Linked DNA regions of Homo sapiens: all the other regions are linked to region 1. Evidence: promoter capture Hi-C in 16 types of primary human blood cells and fetal thymus (Javierre and others, 2016). All regions are on one chromosome and are shown on one strand. Each heading gives the region's core, a stretch centred on a gene start or on the middle of the fragment in contact. The rest is flanking DNA. Distances are from core to core; before and after follow the strand shown.

Region 1 (2,530 bases), core at 9-2,508:
TATAAATTTCATTCTTTAAAAAAGAACTCAATTTATGGGAGTCTATCTATGAGTAAACGAAGCTCCAAGGCTTGGTTTAAACATTTCCACTCTCAAAAAGGACTGATGAGTCCAATCTCCTTGAGAAACATGTCTACTTCATCTAGCTTTTAAGGAGATTCTAAAACGTTATGTATACATACACTTTTCTCAAACAAGCACTGTTGTAAATTTTTCACATTGCCTTACTATATTAAAAAAAAGGCTACCTTACAGATTAAAATATTATCTAGGAGGATTACCAAACTACGACCTCCTGATAAATGAGACAGCTCTCCAAGCCACTGTGACTCTAACCTTTCCATTCTAAATCTTTCGGGCGCGGAGGATGAATTTTTCTATCTTTTTGTTGGAATTAAGATCCTGCATTATCAGGAGATACAGAGTCAGGCTTAAAGCCACAGACTCCAGCAGCTCCTCGCTGCCCTAGCACAGCGGGCAGGGGGAGCCAAGGCGCAGCATCGCCTCCACGCTCCGAGACCAACACCAAGTCTCTTCACCTCCACGCTCCGAGACCAACACCAAGTCTCTTCGCCTCCACGCCGAGAGCAGCTGCGAAACGGACGCTCTGGGGTTTCAGCCGCACCACCACTTTCCTCCACCGCAGACCGAAGGGCCGCCCTAGGAGGAGCCTTCTAGTCCAGTCACCTCAGGCCCGTTTGCTTGGGGTGGAGAGTGCGGTGGATTCCTAAGCCTTTCCCCTAACGGGTGATTTCCTACACCAGACGCAGGACCCACGGTCCCACGGGTCCCAGGGGGAACTAAACCCCAAGGCTGCAAAGGGGCCACGGGTGGGGCCCACCAACATCTCACAGCCTCCTGAGGAGGCGTGCGCCCTGGACAGGAGGTCCCTGCCCCCGCGTCTGGCCCCTGGTATCTTCCCCTAGGGCTCCCGGCCGCCGCTCACCGTGAAGGGGACATCCCCGACGCTGCCCACGGAGTAGCAGTTGTCTCCAGGGTTGACAGCTCCGGTGAGGACCTGATGCAGATGCATCTCCGGAGCCCGGGCTGGACAGAATGCGCGGGAGGTGCGACAAGCTCCGCGCCTGACCCTCCTCGGGCTGCGAGAGCCGTTTCCCTCTGTGCCTCCCTCGGAAACCCGCCCCGCGGAGGCTCTGGCTTAACTCCTCGCCCCCCTTTCGCCTTCCCTCCGCCTCGTCCCTGCCATGGGAGCTCCTCGACCGCCGCCGCCGCCCGGGTCGCCGCTCAGCTGCGGAAATGCCCGGATGTTCCCACTGCCTGCTGCACCGGCGCACAAATGCGGGAGGGCAAGGGTGCTTGTGAGGCGGGGGAGGGCACCGGGGGGAACGCGCGAGCCGGGAGCGTGCAGCAAGGGAGCGGGCCAGCGCGCGCGCCCACCGCGGGGGAGCGAGGTAGAGCCCTCCCCCCGCGGCAAAGCTCTCAGCTCAGTCTTTCTTCCCCCCATCACCCGCGTTTGCGCGTGCGCGCGCCGTGGTTTCCAGGGCAATTGCGCGCGCCACGCCGACCCGCCGTCCCGTGATTGCGCGCGCAGACGTGCGGGAGTTCCCTTGGAGCCTCCCGGGCTGTAGCCGCTGCGGACTGGGGCGGAGGTGGGGGCGGGGGCGAGTGGGGTGCAGGTCGCTCGGGGCCACGCAGCAGTCGGACGCCGGGGACGCGCCACGAGCCGGTTTTGCTGTGTTGAACGTATTCCAGAATACAGTGTGCAATGGTCAGTGCCGTTGACCTCAGAAGGACACCCGTCACCGGGAATTTCCACCTGGAGATATCTTAGATATCTTCAGTCTTTTCGAAAGTGCAGTACATAAGATATTTTATTTTACATAAACAATGTAGGCATCTTGCAACTATTTAGAGAAGCCATACTCCCCTGAAAGCTAATTATTTTGCTCCCACCTTTTGTCACGGTTATTCTAGACAGCAAAAAGCCGCCTTAGAGACGGGTGACTCCTTTCGACTTTTTTTCATGAGTAATTTCATGAATTAGCAGAATCGCCTGATTTTCCAAACTATCTGCTAAACTTTGAATGGTTGATAACAAGGATCATCAGCTCCCTGCCACAGGCCAATTCATGGCAAATGTTCTAACCCATACTATGCTTAAATCACAGGGTAAGGAAGTAGGGGACACCAAGACATAACTATCTGTAAAACCAGGCAGAACGCCAAAGGTGGTGTGATTGAGATATAAAAGTCTTTATGCACCACAGAAGAGGAAGAAGAATGTTGACTAAGGGCGTGGATAAGGCATTATGGAGACATAACCTGACATAAACGCTGAGTTTAATTTTGACAGGCTGAGATAGACAAGAAATGCTGCAAATACAGTACAGAAAATAGAGGGGGTGTTGAAGGTACAAAGATTAATGTTTGAGGCAGATGATTTATAGGGTAGGGAAAGTAAATAATACTTAGCAAGAGATCAAGGTATCCAAGTGGTCTAACTCTTGGCCTACCAAAACATATTATGGAGAGTCTTGAATGCTCCAAGAAGCCCAGATTTCACTCTGCA
Region 2 (2,530 bases), core at 15-2,514, 220 kb after region 1:
AAAATTGAGTATTTTTTAGAGGAAGTGTGATATTGTGTAAAACGTATGGCTTTTAGGGTCAGGTTCAAATCTCACATCCACTACTGAAAAGTACATATCCTTGAGCAGGCTCTTAGCCTTTCTGAGCTTCAGTTTCTTCATCTGTAAATTGGAGATAGAACTATTTTGCAAGGTTATTATGAGGAGATGTGTATGATAAAGTGCCTGGCATATAACAGGTATACAAACAAAAATTGATTCCTTTCTTTTTCACTTCATTATAATATGATATGGGACATGATCCCTTTATTCTGAGAGACTAAAGTAAAAAATGAAAGAAATGTTTTCCTATGATGTAATTAAGATATAACCAGTTTTATTCTATCACTAAAGGTAATAATTGATAGTTGTTGTCATAAGTGTTAATTTCAGATATATTATCCTGAACTCCTGTTTTGGGTCCTTCTAAGCTCTCAGCAACCTCCTCTCTTTTCCTGCATTATTTTCTTTTACTTGTATGTGGCTCCCTTGATTTCCCTCATTTGATATTAAAGGAAAAATGTCCTTTAGCCCCCTTCTAAAGAACCTATCCCAAAGCAGACCTTATGTCCTGGAGACTGTGAACCAAGCTTCTTGGCCAATAGCAATGATTTCTAAGACTTCCCTTCTTTCATCAGTTCTGCTTTCTTCAGTTATCACCAGTCTTAAGTATTAATTTGTTTTTCTTTCTGCCTCCACCCACTCCCATTTCTTCTTTCTCTGAAACTATCCCCAATTGCCACTAGCTGTATGGTTCTCATTATTTCAGTAGTTTTTTATGGTTTGGAGTTTTTTTAATTATTATTTTGAGATGGAGTCTCATTCTGTCACACAGGCTGGAGTGCGGTGGCACGATCTTGGCTCACTGCAACCTCCGCTTCCTGTGTTCAAGCGATTCTCCTACCCCAGCTTCCTGAGTTGCTGGGATTACAGGCATGGGCCACCACGCCTGGCTAATTTTTTTTTATGTACTTGTAGTAGAGATGGGGTTTCACCATGTTGGCCAGGCTGGTCTCAAACTCCTGACCTCAAGTGATCCACCCACCTTGGCCTCCCAAAGTGCTGGGATTACAGGCGTGAGCCACTGTGCCTGGCCTGGTTTGACTTTTTATTATATGTTTGTGTGTATTTTTCAAAGGCTATATTGTGGTAGTTCTTATCATTTATAGTGAACTCTCCTGTCTTAACATCATGAGGCATTTCTGCTTCTGTGCCAGAGGTTTTGTGCCTGCTATCTTGAAACTGCCAATTAAAACCTAGTGAATACCCCTCTCCCCTTACTTTACTGGACTGCATGCTGCTTCTCCATAGGCGAATACCCTAGCTCATGTCACCAGATTACTTTTTTAAAAAACAATTTTATCAAGGCATAATTTATATACCGTCAACTTTACGTATACAGCTTGATGATACCAAATTACTTTTCCTAGCAAGCCCTCTTCAGTGCTGTCTGTGGTGTGTAAGTCATCTTGCCCTTTCTCTTTGTGTTCCAAAAATTGCTTATGGTGGGTTGTGTGGATGTTGATTGTGGCTGCTGTGTGGTTACTTACAAGTGCCCTGTCTGTTGGTTATTTTTCAGCTATTCATTCTGAATATCATAGTACTTCATTAGGCATGAGGTTTTCTACATTTAGGGCCTAAGGTCAAGGTAGTGGGGCAGTGTCATTTTCTTGAAGAATTGACTCTCTTTTGCCCTACTATTGACTGAGTTCGTGCTTTTATCCCACCTCATGAGAATTATACCCTAACTCCAGGAGTTACCAAATCTCTTTTTGAGTGGTATTACATTCCCCACCTCCCTCATGAAGTACAAAATACATTATGCAAATTTTAGGCCTTGTGCCTCTTGAAAAACCTATTGTAACTACTACTCCCTTTCAATCTGAAAATTAATCATGATAATAAAGCTTGATGTATCTCCAGGCCCCTGACGTTGATTAGAGTAATACCAGTGGTATCTCTAAGTCAGAAGTGTGCTGTGTCTCTGAAGGTGCATATAAATGCCTTCACCATGTAAGAGTGAGGCATGGTCCATTGAGGAGCATTCATTCTTACCAGCTGGGGCACCGTACTCATGACTCAGTGGTGAGCAATGGGGCTAGATGGTATGCCATACCTGGAGCACTGCTGATCTTGAGAGGAGGAAAAAGAGTAGTCAGAGTTGGAAGAGCTAGAAAGGCTTTGGAGAGGACAGACTTCAGCTAGTCTTTGAATTGTGCAGCGTGTGGATAAGATAGAGAGGTGAAATTCGGGCCTGGGGTAAAAAGGATTGTTTAAGAAGAGTGACATCATTGTGGGAAACAAATGAGGCGGCCAGCTGAAGATGAACTTTGGATATCTGTGAGGCCCTGAGGAATCTAGCCTGATTAAAGCAGAGGATTCCTAGTGATTCTTAGAGCAAGTAGGAAGGGGAGTTTTATCAAAATCACCCGAGAAACTGTCAAACTACAAACACCTAACAAGAAACATTTCTAAGTAAAGGAGTAAAATGTTAAAAGCAGTGTTTTAGGTG
Region 3 (2,530 bases), core at 22-2,521, 190 kb after region 1:
ATATGATGTACTCAGCCCCCTCCTAGGCACTACGAAGAAGACAGAGGAAGCATAAAAATTCTGGACTAATATAATTTTATATGTGTTTCTGAGATTGGGGAGTAGACTGAGTGCCTTTTTTACAAAGAAGATCCCATATTTAATTCAAGTATTTATAGCATCAGCAAAAATGGGCAGAGGGCGGGAAGTTGAGAACACTAGGTTCTGTGCTATGTTACCTGTATTCAGTAGAAGTGTTTCTGGAGTCAGGTTTTAAGTCATGATCCTGAAGCTTCCTTCCCCTCTTCCACTAATGATGCAATAATAGCTGTTTTCATTTTAACGAGCAGAGAACTAAGAGGAAAGGTCCTAGCTCTGCCTTCCACTTGCAGCTTCCCTTTACCTCCTCTTATTGCTTTCATCTCAAATATCCCTGCTACTCAACCAATCCTAAAGCTAAAGTACTGAGATGCACACAAAGGAAAGGTGTGAGAGTGCTTGGAAGCATCCAGCTGAGCCCACTGGATGAAAATCAGACGATAGGGCCTCCTGTTGTAATATACTAGCCAGAGAAAAGCGCCAAGAACTTCAGGGATATTATTCACTGCTTTATTGCTCCCTAACCCTAGATCAGATTGGATTTTACTTTGTAGTTCAGGAGTTAAGAAGTCAAATTGCTGACCGAGGTGGGGAAGGATGATGGAAATTAAAGGTTTACATTTGTTTAATGGCAGAACTGAGATTTGCTCAGCTTATCTCTTTCCCATCTGTCTGTAATAGCAATGACTGAATAATCAGTAGACCAATGGAAGAGGAGTTGCAAGTTTAAATTTGTAACCTGACTCTGGGTTCTGTTCTAGGAATAGTGCATGTTTTAGAGGCTTTGCCAGTTGGGATACATTGTTGACTTGGGGGAGGATGAAGGAGAGAACTGATGACCTAGACATAGAAAAGAGTAGTTAACTAACTAGATGTTCTTCTGATCTCTTCCATGGTAGACATTCTGAGCACATTGGCCCAGTTAGTTGGTATGGTGAAGGGGCACCGTACTAACAGATTTGGAGACTGAAACCTAATCCCATCACCAACACTTAGCAGGTATATGATCATGGGCAATTCATTCAATTGCCTGCCAATTATAGACTATATAGGGGGAAGAGCACTGGATTTGGAGTCAAGAAACCTGGACACTTGGCTCCACACTTCCTTAGCTGGGTAACTTTGGGCAAACCGCTTGGTCTCTCAAGCCTAAGGTTCTTCAGCTATAAAATGGGAATAATACTTCACTAACTACCTCACAGAGTTGTGGTAAGAATATAATCAGATAACTGGATAAAAACACTATATAAACTGGAAAGCGCCGTACAAATGTGAGAGATCAGTTTTATTATCAAATCACTGTTTTCCACTGCCTCTTGAATCGGCTTTATTCTAACCAACCATTACATCTTTCTCATCTTTTGGAGTATGGGTAATTGAGGCTTGGGTGTGTCATCAGGGACTGGAGTTATTTCAGCTCCCATGTAGAGGTGGGAGAGGTGGTTGATGGGGCAGTGGAAGTTAGATACCAGCGATGTATATGGTAGGACATTTTCCTGGGTCACTTTGACAGTACCTTGGGAAATTGTCAGTCCTTGCAGAGGGCCTAGGCTGGGCACAAGGGAGAAAGCGAACAGTTGACTAAGAATTGAGGGGAGGGTCTGGAGCGCTACTGCCCTCCTGTCATTGCTGTGGGTGGGAGAGGCTAAGACTTCAGGTTTGACTGGAGGCCTAGGAGAGAAGAGTGTCCTTAGGGTTTCAAGAATTTTAATGCCTAGCAGCTGAGTAACAGGCATTAGTTCTGATAGATAGTGAAGGGGAGAAAGTGCCACCTGTTGTGAGATCACCTCTCCAGGGCAGCAGCTGCCTTGTTATCACCAGCAACCTTAGCCCTGGTCAGTAATATTTCTGCTAAGAAAGGTTTTGAAGCATGGCCTCCAATGACTTTCATAAGCCCTTGGAGGCAGGACTGTGTCTCATCCATCTTTGTATCTTCAGTACCATCTTGTAAGGTGCCTTGTACATAGTAGGTGCTTAATGAACAAATGTTGCTTGAATTTAGCTGTCGTCCAGCCCCACAGAGTTATGCTCCATTTGCCACCATGTGATATTTTTGAGAAACAATAGTGATTTGGATGCCAGCTCTATGTGACTTTGGGCAAGACTCTCCATCTATCTTGTCTTCATTTCATCTGTAAAATGAAGTGAGTAGATTCAATGCTCCCTAAGGTCCCTTCCAGCTCCAATACTTGACAAGCTTGTGATTCTAAATCGTTTCCGTTGCCTCTGAACATGGGTGAGTAATGCCTCCACTGCAGCTGTTTCTCTCCAGGAGGCTTTGTTCAGAGGAGGTCTGACTATTGCACAGCCAGTTTTTTCTTCCTCTTCAGCAGTTCTTTACTGTCTTCAGAATGGTTCTGGATAAGCGGCCTTTTCTGAAAGGATATTTAAAAATATATACTATTTAGGCTGGGCCCAGTGGCTCATGCCTGTAATCCCAGCACTTTGGGAG

Evidence for each region. The method cuts DNA at HindIII sites, captures the fragments that hold promoters and counts their contacts. A CHiCAGO score of 5 or more calls a contact.
Region 2: a fragment that was not itself captured here is called in contact with the fragment with the promoter of DMXL2 in region 1 in 1 of 17 cell types (M1 macrophages); the score reaches 5.9 in M1 macrophages.
Region 3: a contact is called between a fragment that was not itself captured here and the fragment with the promoter of DMXL2 in region 1, in 1 of 17 cell types (neutrophils). The highest score is 5.5, in neutrophils.

Annotation. Positions count from the first base shown.
Region 1 is chr15:51,621,513-51,624,042 of GRCh38, forward strand. It overlaps DMXL2 (Dmx like 2), which reads right to left and starts at 1,259. Exons shown (of 44, transcript NM_001378457.1): 1 at 947-1,259. The coding sequence starts at 1,033. RefSeq lists an enhancer at 397-806 and a silencer at 1,177-1,396. The HindIII fragment of the contact is 5,213 bases long and covers 1-2,530 here.
Region 2 is chr15:51,840,962-51,843,491 of GRCh38, forward strand. All of the region lies in intron 1 of TMOD3 (tropomodulin 3), which reads left to right. Among named protein-coding and RNA genes, the nearest start is that of TMOD3, 13 kb to the left of the region's middle. The HindIII fragment of the contact is 1,317 bases long and covers 607-1,923 here.
Region 3 is chr15:51,812,495-51,815,024 of GRCh38, forward strand. It overlaps TMOD2 (tropomodulin 2), which reads left to right. Exons shown (of 10, transcript NM_014548.4): 10 at 1-2,530. Among named protein-coding and RNA genes, the nearest start is that of TMOD3, 16 kb to the right of the region's middle. The HindIII fragment of the contact is 2,004 bases long and covers 270-2,273 here.